Regions from separate parts of the Homo sapiens genome. Here regions 2 and 3 are each linked to region 1. The links are contacts of gene promoters, found by promoter capture Hi-C in human tissues and cell types (Jung and others, 2019). All regions are on one chromosome and are shown on one strand. Each heading gives the region's core, a stretch centred on a gene start or on the middle of the fragment in contact. The rest is flanking DNA. Distances are from core to core; before and after follow the strand shown.

Evidence for each region. Contacts are between HindIII fragments. The study calls those that stand out against the background at their distance.
Region 2: a contact is called between the fragment with the promoter of PKMYT1 here and the fragment with the promoter of PAM16 in region 1, in 1 of the 25 tissues and cell types used here (spleen).
Region 3: a contact is called between the fragment with the promoter of IL32 here and the fragment with the promoter of PAM16 in region 1, in 1 of the 25 tissues and cell types used here (spleen).

Annotation. Positions count from the first base shown.
Region 1 is chr16:4,349,498-4,353,122 of GRCh38, forward strand. It overlaps PAM16 (presequence translocase associated motor 16), which reads right to left and starts at 1,824. Exons shown (of 5, transcript NM_016069.11): 1 at 1,735-1,824. The coding sequence starts at 1,737. The region is part of intron 27 of CORO7-PAM16 (CORO7-PAM16 readthrough); the gene reads right to left. The HindIII fragment of the contact is 27,496 bases long and covers 1-3,625 here.
Region 2 is chr16:2,978,877-2,982,501 of GRCh38, forward strand. PKMYT1 (protein kinase, membrane associated tyrosine/threonine 1) reads right to left here and starts at 1,570. Exons shown (of 9, transcript NM_004203.5): 1 at 1,410-1,570; 2 at 772-1,036. The coding sequence starts at 781. RefSeq lists enhancers at 260-1,136, 1,137-2,012, 2,013-2,889 and silencers at 1,304-1,533, 1,544-1,903. The HindIII fragment of the contact is 14,611 bases long and covers 1-3,625 here.
Region 3 is chr16:3,064,390-3,068,014 of GRCh38, forward strand. IL32 (interleukin 32) reads left to right here and starts at 1,251. Exons shown (of 7, transcript NM_001376923.1): 1 at 1,251-1,298; 2 at 1,395-1,437; 3 at 2,988-3,026; 4 at 3,165-3,224; 5 at 3,595-3,621. The coding sequence starts at 1,423. RefSeq lists enhancers at 745-1,054, 3,393-3,625. The HindIII fragment of the contact is 16,762 bases long and covers 1-3,625 here.

The DNA.
Region 1 (3,625 bases), core at 574-3,073:
ATCACCTAAGCCCCAGGAGGTTGAGGCTGCAGTGAGCTGTGATCGTACCACTGTACTCCAGCCTAGGAGACCCATCTGGGGCAACACAGCAAGACCCCACCTCTACATAAAATTTAAAAATTAGCCAGGTGTGCTGGCACTCACCTGTAGGCCCAACTACTTGGGGGTCTAAGGTAGGAGGATGGCTTGAGCCTAGGAGTTCAAGGCTGCAGTGAGCTAGGATCGCTCCACTGCATCCTAGCCGGGGCGACAGACAGACATCCTATCTCAAAAAACAAACCAAAAAAACCCCATGAGTTTTGGGACAGAGCTGGGCTCAAAAGAGGTCTCTGACACCATGGGATGCATGACTATGGTGGAGTCAAAACTGTCTGGGGCTCAGGTTCCTTATCTGTAAAATAAGGACAATGACAGCAGGACTTCATAAACACTAAATGAGAGACTCTACATAAAGCCTTAGCTCAGGGGCTGGCACTTGTACGCCGTTAGCTGTTACATTATCCTTATTACTATGTTAGTTAAGAAGTGGCTCCCCGAACCAGCTGCAACAGAGTCACTTGGGGAACTTACGTGTGCAGAACCTCCAGGGATAGAGCTCAAGAACCTGAACTTTTTTTTTCCCCCTCTTTTTCTTTTTGAGAGAGTTTTGCCCTGTCGCCCAGACTGGAGTGCAGTGGCACAATCTTGGTTCACTGCAGCCTCTGCCTCCTGGGTTCAAGCGATACTGGCGCCTCAACTTCCCAAGCAGCTGGGATTACAGGTGTGTGCCACCATGCCTGGCTAACATATGTATATATTATGTGTGTGTGTGTGTATATATATATATAAAATACATGATATATAAAAATATATATAACATAATAATATGTAGTATACATAAATGTATACGGTATATATAATACATATATATAATTTTTTTTTTGAGACGCAGTCTCACCCTGTCGCCCAGGCTAGAGTGCACTGGCGGATCTCGGCTCATTGCAACCTCTGTCTCGCGGGTTCAAGCGTCTGTCCTGCCTCAGCCTCCCGGGTAGCTTGGACTACAGGCGCGCACCACCCCACCCGGCTAATTTTTTAAATTTTTTGGTGGAGACCGGGTTTCATCATGTTGGCCAGGCTGGTCTCGAACTCCTGACCTCGTGATCCGCCGCCTCGGCCTCCCAGAGTGCTGGGATTACAGGCGTGAGCCACCGCGCCCAGCCAAACCTGCACTTTTAAAGCTACCCTAGGTGACCTGACAGTGTGGCGCAGGTCTGTTGACTGGCTCTACGTGCCAACGATATCACACAAACGCTCCGTGCTCGGTGTCTCGGGGCCTAGTTCAAGTCCCAGGTCAGCCACTTCCCTGGAAAGGCCAGCTTTCCACTGGGGATAACAACAGGGCAGCAACATCGACTCTGCAGCGCTGTAAGGTTCCAGGGCAGGGGAGGCGCTCACCAGCCAGACTCATGCTCCACCGCTGCCCACGGCTGCTCGCTCACACGCGGGCTAGGCACAGCGCGACCACGTTTGCCCGGCCTCTTCCAGGCAGACGGTTTTCCCTGGCCCTGAGGCCGCCGGTGCCGCCGCTGCCGGCCTCGATTCCCCCGGGTGCAACGCCCCCAGACCATGCTTCCCGCCGGGCACGCAGGGGGCGCACGGCGCCCGCCGCCCAGCCCGGAGCTCGCCGCCCGGCCCCCGGCCCCCGGCCCGACTCGGCTTCCCCTCCCCGGTAGCGCCCGACTCGGGGCTCACCATGGCAGCCGCTCTGCCTCCGGGGCTCAAACTCCGACTTCCTGGCCCCGCGGCCGGGGATCAAGCGTGGTCGGCGGGTCAGAGGTCAAGGAAAGCCGCAGAGAGCGCGTGCGCGATACGGCGCTGGGCATGCGCATTGCCTCAGTCTAAGGGCGGGCCACCGGGAGCGTCTTAGCGGCTCGGGGCGGGGTCGGAGGCGGGGTTTGACTGAGCCTGCGTCGGGCTCTGGATAACTGGGGGCGGGCTTGGGAGGGCAAGGGGCGTTACCGGGAGTCTCAATTGCCCGCGTGCTTACCCCAGTGCGCTGGAGCAGCTAAGCACATCGGTCAGACGTGGGGCGATTTCTGCCCTTGATTTTGCCAAAATATTTGGGAATGCAACATTATATGAAATCAATGAACATAATATGGAGTAGGATGCTAAATTCTCAAAAATACTTTAGAAAATAGAAAACTTCAAAATAGGTTTCATCCACATTCCTCCTGCCTGAGAAGCTCGTTCCCTTCTTCAAATCTTTGCTCAAATGTCACCTCAATGAGGCCCACCTGGACCCCTTAAAACGCCGTGACTTGCCCTCCATGAATGAAAAAAGTAACAGCTTTATTGAGATATAATCCATACACTGTAGATTTCATGATTTTCAAGTGCACAGTCCAATGCCTTTTATTCACAGAGCTGTGCCACTGTCACCACTATTAGTTCCAGAACGTTTTCATCACCCATTAGTCACTCCCCAGCCCCCTCCCCCAGCCCCTGTCAACCACTCATTTTTCTCTCTATGGATTCACAGGTTCCGGACATTTCATAGAAATGGAATCATACAAGCCAGGCGTGGTGGCTCATGCCTGCAATCTCAAAACTTTGGGAGGCCGAGGTGGATCGCTTGAGGTCAGGAACTCAAGGCCAGGCTGGGCAACATGGTGAAACCCCATCTCTACAAATACAAAAATTAGCCGGGTGTGGTGGCAGGTGCCTGTAATCCCAGCTACTTGGGAGGCTGAGTGGTGGATCTCTTGAGCCCGGGAGGTACAGGCTGCAGTGAGCTGTGATCACTGCACTCCAGCCTGGGTGACAGAGTCAGGCCCTGCCTCAAAAAAAAAAAAAAAAAAAAAAAAGGTAAAAATGAAAAATGAAAAAAAAGAAGAAATTGAATCATACAATGTGCAGCCTTTTGTGACTGGCTTATCCTCCCTTCTTGTCTCTATTTTTCTTCCAAGACTCTGATCACCCTCTACCATACCACATAATTTACTTATTTATTTTATTTATCATTTTGAGACAGGGTCTCACCCTGTCGCCCAGGCTGGAGTCCAGTGGCACAATCCTGCCTCACTGCAACCTCCACCTCCCAGGTTCAGGCGATGCTCATGCTTTAGCCTCCTGAGTAGCTGGGATTACAGGCATGGACCACCATGCCCCATTAATTTTTGAATTTTTAGTAGAGACAGGGTTTCACCATGTTGGCCAGGCTGGTCTTGAACTACTGGTCTCAAATGATCCACCCGCCACAGCCTCCCAAAGTGCTGGGATTATAGGCATGTGACACTGTGCCCAACCGGTTTTTTATTTTTAAATTATTTTTCCTTTTTTTTTTTTTTTTGAGATGAAGTCTTGCTCTGTCACCCAGGCTGGAGAGCAGTGGCCCAATCTTGGCTCACTGCGATCTCCACCTCCTGGGTTCAAGTGATCCTCCCACTTCAGCCTCCGAAAGTGCTGGGATTACAGGTGTAAGCCACCGTGCCCAGCCAAAAAAAAATTTTTTTTTTTCAAGATAGGGTCTCACTCTGTTGCCCAGGCTGCAGTACAGTAGCATGATCATGGCTCACTGCAGTCTTGACCTTCCAGCCTTGAGTGATACTTTCACCTCAGCTTTCTGAGTAGCTGGGACCAC
Region 2 (3,625 bases), core at 320-2,819, 1.4 Mb before region 1:
GCCCACTGCAGCCTCCGACTCCCAGGTTCAAGTAATTCTCTTGCCTCAGCCTCCTGAGTAGCTGGGATTACAGGCGTGTGCCAACACACTAGAATAATTTTTATATTTTTAGTAGAGATGTGGTTTCACCATGTTGGTGAGGCTGGTGCACCAAAGTATTATAAAAAACAATAGAGCGGCTGGGTGTGGTGGCTCACGCCTGTAATCCCAGCACTTCGGGAGGCAAGGTGGGTGGATCACTTGAGGTCAAGACTTCGAGACCAGCCTGGCCTACATGGTGAAACCCCATCTCTACTAAAGATACAAATTTTTGCCGGGCGTGCTGGTGCATGCCTGTAGTCCCAGCTACTCAGAGGCTGAGGCAGGAGAAATGCTTGAACCCAGGAGGTGGAAGTTGCGGTGAGCCGAGATTGCGGCATTGCACTCCAACTGGGCGACAAGAGCAAAACTCCATCTCAAAAAAATATACATAATAGTAAATAAAAAATTAAAAAGAGCAGTCTCCAGTACCTGAGGGAGTACAGGGGTGAGGGGAGCGATGCTACCTGGGCCTGGCTGGCAGGCTGCCCTCCATCTTGTGGAGACTCTTCCTCTGACTCTAACTACCTCAGAGTCCCAGCCCAGGGTTTCTCCAAGTCAGGAGCCAGGGTGTTGGGATCCTGGAGGTCACTGGTCACAAGCACAGCCTCCAGGCCCAACCCTGGCACACTCGGGGACCTGGGCCTGTGCATCTTAACCCAGTTCTCCCACCGTCCCTGCCCTACGACTTACGTTCTAGCATGACTGGCCTGGCCCAACAGCCTCAGTGGTGGGACGGGGGAGGCAGGAGCAGGGGCTCCCACGTGAATCCAGGGTGTCCCTGAGCTAAGGCCAGGCGGGGGTGACCTCCGCAGCTTCCGGGGCCCTGGGCGATCGGGCCGTCTCGCCTCACCCTCTCACCAGGCCCGACACATCTGCTGGCCACCTTTCCCGGTAGACGGTAAGTTCCTCCCAGGCAGGGCCGCGGCTGACTTCACTCCGTGGGTGTGGGGAAGCCCTGGCGAACAGAGCAGTGGACGGGCTGTCACGAGGGAAGAGGGGCTGTTGCAGAAGAAGAGAGGCTGTCCCGGGGCAGGGGCTGTCACGGAGGAAGGACTGTCACGGGGAGGGCGGCGGCGCGGGGTTGATGGACAGCAGGCGGGGTCTCCGGGAGGGGCGAGTAGGGCGGGACCGCCGCTGGGAAGGGGCTCGAGGCAAGGGAACCAGGAATTGGGGAGGACGGGAGGCAGGGGCTCGCGGGGGCGGGCCTGAGGGGACGCGAGCGGGCCGCCGGGGAGGCCTGAGGGGCAGGGGTAACGCAGACCTGGCGAGGCGGAGGGGAGCGGCGAGGTGGCCACGCCGAGGCCCCTCACGGCGGGGTCTGGGCTCACCTGGGGCGACTGGGCGGGGCGCGGGTCCGCGAGGGCCCAGATTCCGGGTCCGCGGAGGCCACGGGACCCCTCGGGTGGCTCAGCGGGCCGGAGTCTGCCGTCGACTGTTCCGGACGCCCGGGCGGAGGACTCCCGTGAGGGGGAACGGCCCGTGAACGCGCGCGGAGCTGCTCGCGCCAAAAATTCCAAACCGGCCTCGAGGCTCCTCCCCCTCCCCAGTGCAGCCCGTCAGGGGTGCCCGGGCTCCGAGGCTCCGCCCCTCGTGCTGCGTGCGCGCCGCCGAGCCGCCCCGCCGCTCACTGCGCAGGCGCACAGGATTCTCCGCGCTGGCCCGGGGCGTGGGTGGCGGCCTGGTTCTGAGTCGCTGCGCGGGGCTTCAGCCGCCCAGTCCCTGGGACGCCCACTGCCCTCCAGGCCTCGCACCCGACACCCACCGCCCTCGCTGGGCTGGCGTAGTGTTTGGGTCCATAAAAGGGACCGCCATCCCGGTGCTCGGAGCAGGCGTAGCCCCAGGGTTACTCCGGGTAGGACCAGGAAGTCCCTACGGCCTCCTGGGTCCCGGCACCCCCCTTCTCACTCCGGCCGTGTTCTGAACCAGGGTCGCGGTGGGAGGCCAGACGCACGACCCCCAACCCCTAGCGCACGGCTTCGGGAGCCAGAAAAAGCCGCCTCTTCCAGGAAGCTCTCCAGATAGGCAGGACTCTGCTTGGCCTGACCTCGCCTGCCTGCAGCTTCCCTGCCAACAGGCCTCAGATACTTTTTTTTTTTTTTTTAGACAGGGTCTCACTGTCACCAAGGCTGGAATGCAGTGGTGCAGTCCCCAGGTTCAGGCGGTTCTCCCAACCTCAGCCTGCCGAGTATGTGAGATCACAGGCGCGCGCCACCGCACTCGGCTCATGTATTTTATTTTTAGACAGGGTCTCATTCTGTTGTCCAGGCTGGAGTGCAGTGGGGCGATCTCGACTCACTGTAACTTCCGCCTCCCCCGCTCAAGCGTTCCTCCCACCTCAGCCTCCTGAGTAGCTGGGACCACAGGCGCGCGCCACCACACCCAACTAATTTTTGCATTTTTTTGTAGAGACGGTGTTTTACCATGTTGGCCAAGCTAGTGTCGAACTTCTGACCTCAAGCGATCCGCCCGCCTCGGCCTCCCAGAAGGCTGGGATTACAGGCGTGAGCCACCGCGATTGGCCGCAGGATCATAGTTCACTGCAGCCTCGAGCAGCCACTTCCGGGGCAGCTCCTCCATTCTCTGAGTTTGAGACTTGCTCTCAGCTCAGATCCCTTCAGCGCTCTCCTGGCTGAACGACCTTGGGAATGCACTGAGCCTTTCTGAGCTTCGGATTAGTCTCCTCTCCTGGAAAAAAAAAAACAGCTGAGGACGCTGGGATGATCCCCTAAAGTGATTAGCAGGGGCCCTCGCGGAGCAAGTCGGGCTAGGGATTGTTCCTTCCCTCACCGAGGGGCTCTTTATCTGTTTAACTGGGTGGGAGGAGTACGCTTCCGGCCAACCCTCCCCCAAACGCTGGCCTTCTCACTCTCACCTCTCCTTCCGCCTTATTTTTGCTATTGCCCTGATCTCTGTCCGATGTTCTATCTTTTGTTTGTGAGTTTACTTGTTGACTACCTGCTCCTTCTAGCCCTGGCCTCCAGAACCAGTCCCCCAAACCCTCCATCCTCCCCAAGTCTCTGACAGGTCATGGACTGCAAAGCTTCCCACCCATTCAGTTCCTGCACCCTCTGTAAACGTTCTGTGCATGGAGCAGCAGTGTGGGGGAGGAGAGGCTGGGATCCTGGCTGGGGGCGGCAGCCCACCTGCCTGCACCTTTCCTTGTCCTTCGCATCTCTGGCGGCTGTGCCCCAGTGACTCAGGCAGGATCCTTGTTGATGACTCCAGACTGGCCCCCAGGAGGCCTGGGGCACACACAGGCCCCTCCCCAGCTGCCTAGGGCTACCTCTGCCAGCCCCATCTCCCCAACAGGTCCCCTTCCAACCGCCCATTTTTTAAAGTCTGATTCACAATGATAATTAAAAAAAAAAAAAAAAAAGCATGGAAACACATGCTTCCGATGTAAATTTCACTGTGTGAGGAAAGGCTGTAATATAAATATATGTAAATGGAAATAAGTAGATGGAGCAGATAAGTGCGTGGTGTGAGGGAAACTAGGGCTGCGATCCTGCCTGCCCCAGTTTCTGCGTGTGTAAAATGGGGATAA
Region 3 (3,625 bases), core at 1-2,500, 1.3 Mb before region 1:
AGTAGCTGGGAATACAGGTGCCGGCCACCACGCAAGGCTAATTTTTGTATTTTTAGTAGAGACAAGGTTTCACCATGTTGGCCAGGCTGGTCTAGAACTCCTGACCTTAGGTGATCTGCCCGCCTCGGCCTCCCAAAGTGTTGGGATTACAGGCGTGACCCACTGCGCCCGGCCTAGGGTGGACCCTATTTCAATATGACTGGTGTCCTTTGGAAAGGGGAAAGGGGGACAGTCACACCCAGGCAGAACGTGATGAAGATGAAGATGGCCATCTACAAGGGCAGGAGAAACCTGAACAGAATCCCAGCTCCGGGCCCTCAGAAGGACCCCACGCTGCCCACATTGACCTTGGACCTCCAGCCTGCAGATCGTGAGGGAAGAGACGTCTTCGACTTAGGGCCCCTTGTCGTGGTACTTCCTTAGTTTGGCCCCAGGAAACCATCCCAAAGGCAAGGGCGTGGTTGTGCTCAGCTGGGGGAAGGGGGCTGGGGGCCGTGAGGAGGAGGTGGGAGGCCCAGCCAGGCTGGAGGGTCAGAACCCGTGGAGCTAGAAGAGCCCGTAGGGGAGCCCCAAGATTGCTGAGACCAGTGACCTTCGGCCCCAGATGGCCTTGCCTTGGCCCAGAAGGGTCAGAAGGACCTGGTCAGCCAAGCTCAGACAGCCGGCAGGATGCCTTCCACCCTGCAGAGGGTCCTATCTTGTCCCACAGGTAGATCTACATCACCACTAGCCACCCCTCCAACGTGCACAGGCCCCTGCCCTCACGGCGCCCCTCTTAGGTCCGGCAGTTCCTGCCTCCTTCTGATCCAGAAGTTTCTCTGGCCTCTGGAGCCGGGGCACACCTCATGCAAGGACAGGGTCCAAATTCCTTTGTCCTTGGATCCCACTTGGCTGACGTCACCTTCCTGTACTCAGGGAGTTTCCCCAGCCAGCTGTCCCGAGTCTGGACTTTCCCTCTGCCCCTCCCCACTCTCAGGCTGGTGGGGTGGGGAAAGCAGCCCATTCCTGGGCTCAGAGACTCCCACCCCAGCTCAGAGGGAGCAGGGGCCCAGCCAGGGACGGACCCTCATTCCTCCCAGGGACCCCAGACCTCTGTCTCTCTCGGGTAAGTCTCCATCTCTGTCTGTCTCTGTCTCTGTCTCTGTCTCTGTCTGTTTTTCACGCACTCAGCAAGGCCTCCTGCCCTGAGAGAGGCTCCGCCCACTACCCCCCACTTTCCCCATAAAACCAGCTGAGTATTTGTGCCAGGAAGACTGCGTGCAGAAGGTGACTGTCTCAGTGGAGCTGGGTCATCTCAGGTGGGGAGTTGGGGTCCCCGAAGGTGAGGACCCTCTGGGGAGGAGGGTGCTTCTCTGAGACACTTTCTTTTCCTCACACCTGTTCCTCGCCAGCAGGCCTTGGCTCCTTGAACTTTTGGCCGCCATGTGCTTCCCGAAGGTGAGTGAGAGGCTGCGTGTGCTTTTGTGGGCATGTCTGAAAACAGACCGTAAGGGTGCGGGTGCCCTCAGTATTTCCCGAGGTGCCTGTGTGTCAGGGCTCAGTCAGGGGCACCCAGCGGCAGGAGGATAGTGATGGGGTGAGAGTGTCAGTGGAGGCGCTGGAGGTCATATGTGTCGGGGGCGCTGGAGAACGGCAGGGGTGTGGATGAGAGGGAGCACCTGTCCCAGGAGCCCTTCACAGCCCGGAAAGCCCGGGGCAGGGGTGGGGCAGGGCTCTGCTGGAAACGACTCGGAGAATGCTTCTCTCAGAGGCCGGCTCAGCTGGGTGGGCCCAAGAGCAAGGCCTGTGTGGGTCCTGGTGTCTCTTCCTCCTTTCCTGGGTTCCCTCCGACCTCCCATCCTCTACCACTGCCCCACCGCAAATGCTAGGCCCACCACACCCTCCAGGGAGCTCTTCGGCCTGTGACAATAGGGGTTTCCATGATGTGGCCTGGCTCAGGTTCAGGACAGTGACCCGGAGGACACATGGCTCCCGCATGTCGGCACGGTGCTGCTTTCACCCTGGTTCCTGGGAAATCAGGCTAGCGGGATGGGACCATCGCTGCCTGAAAGTGTGCAGACAGCTGCCCTGCCCAGAATATGTCCCCAGGCCCTGCGCACTCTGTGGGTGACTGTCACCACTCTATAGTGGGGGAAACCAGGCATGTCACCCCCGAGACTAGGCCCTTGACGTGGGGGCTCAGCGGGGATTCTGTGGGGTGCCTCTGGCCTCTGTGGATGCAGCCACGTGTCTGCAGGCAGGAATGGCCCGGGACCTGTGGGTCTGCATGTTGGCAGTCGGGAAGAGTGGCAGGTTGTAGGGTGGACCTACCTGGCACCCCAAATATTAATCAGCTCATCAGAGAGGAATGGCTGCTGTTACCTTCTCAATTGTCATGTCCCTAAACATTTTTTCCTTGGCCAACTCTCACCTGGGACCATAGTGGTTGTGGGAAACCCAGCTGAGCCAGCCTGCTCCAGGACAGTGTCCATCCTCCCGTGTGTGTACATGGGGGGGTGTGTGTGTGCAGGGAGGACACCCCGGCCCACGCAGGCCCTGCTCTTGTGAGGAGGGGTCACCTAGGCCCACGCAGGCCCTGCTCTTGTGAGGAGGGGTCACCTAGGCCCACGCAGGCCCTGCTCTTGTGAGGAGGGGTCACCTAGGCCCACGCAGGCCCTGCTCTTGTGAGGAGGGGTCACCTAGGCCCACGCAGGCCCTGCTCTTGTGAGGAGGGGTCACCTAGGCCCATGCTGGCCCTGCTCTTGGGCCTGCCCAGCTGAGCCGGCTCCTGAGAGAAGCGCTTTCTGAGTCGTTTCGAGGACAGCCCTGGCCGGTCTTTCCAGGCTGTGAGGGGCTCCTGGGACTGCTGTCTCCTCTTATCCTGTACCTCTGCCATGTGTCTCTGTGTGTGTGTGTGTGTGTGTGTGTGTGTGTGTGTGTGTATAAATTATCCTGGAGGAAAGGTTAAGGTGACACATGGAGACTGAGTGTCACCGTTATTTCCGCAGGTCCTCTCTGATGACATGAAGAAGCTGAAGGCCCGAATGGTAATGCTCCTCCCTACTTCTGCTCAGGGGTTGGGGGCCTGGGTCTCAGCGTGTGACACTGAGGACACTGTGGGACACCTGGGACCCTGGAGGGACAAGGATCCGGCCCTTTGGTGCCAACTCTGCCTCTCTTCACAGCACCAGGCCATAGAAAGATTTTATGATAAAATGCAAAATGCAGAATCAGGACGTGGACAGGTGGGTGGATTTCCCCTCAGGCACCAGGTCACATGTCCCCGCCCCCAGGCACTCCACCCTGTGTGGGGCTCAGGGTGAGAAGGATGAAGAGGGACCCACAGGCTCCCTCACCCCTTACCGTGGGCAAATGCTTGCACCTGGGTGGCAGTGAGTGGGCGGGTGGGGGATCTGGACGCCCGGGGAGACTGAGGGAGGCATCCAAGCCCCAGGGCTCCTTGAGGAAACAACAGGGGTGCCAGACGTGGCCCGGGCCCCTGGCTGGGCCCAGTTCGGGGTGTGTGGGAGCTGAGGACTCACTGGGCTTGAGGACTGACTGATGTGGGGTGCAGAGGAGGCTTGGGCCTGGAACCGAGTGCTTTGTTCCTAACAGGTGATGTCGAGCCTGGCAGAGCTGGAGGTGA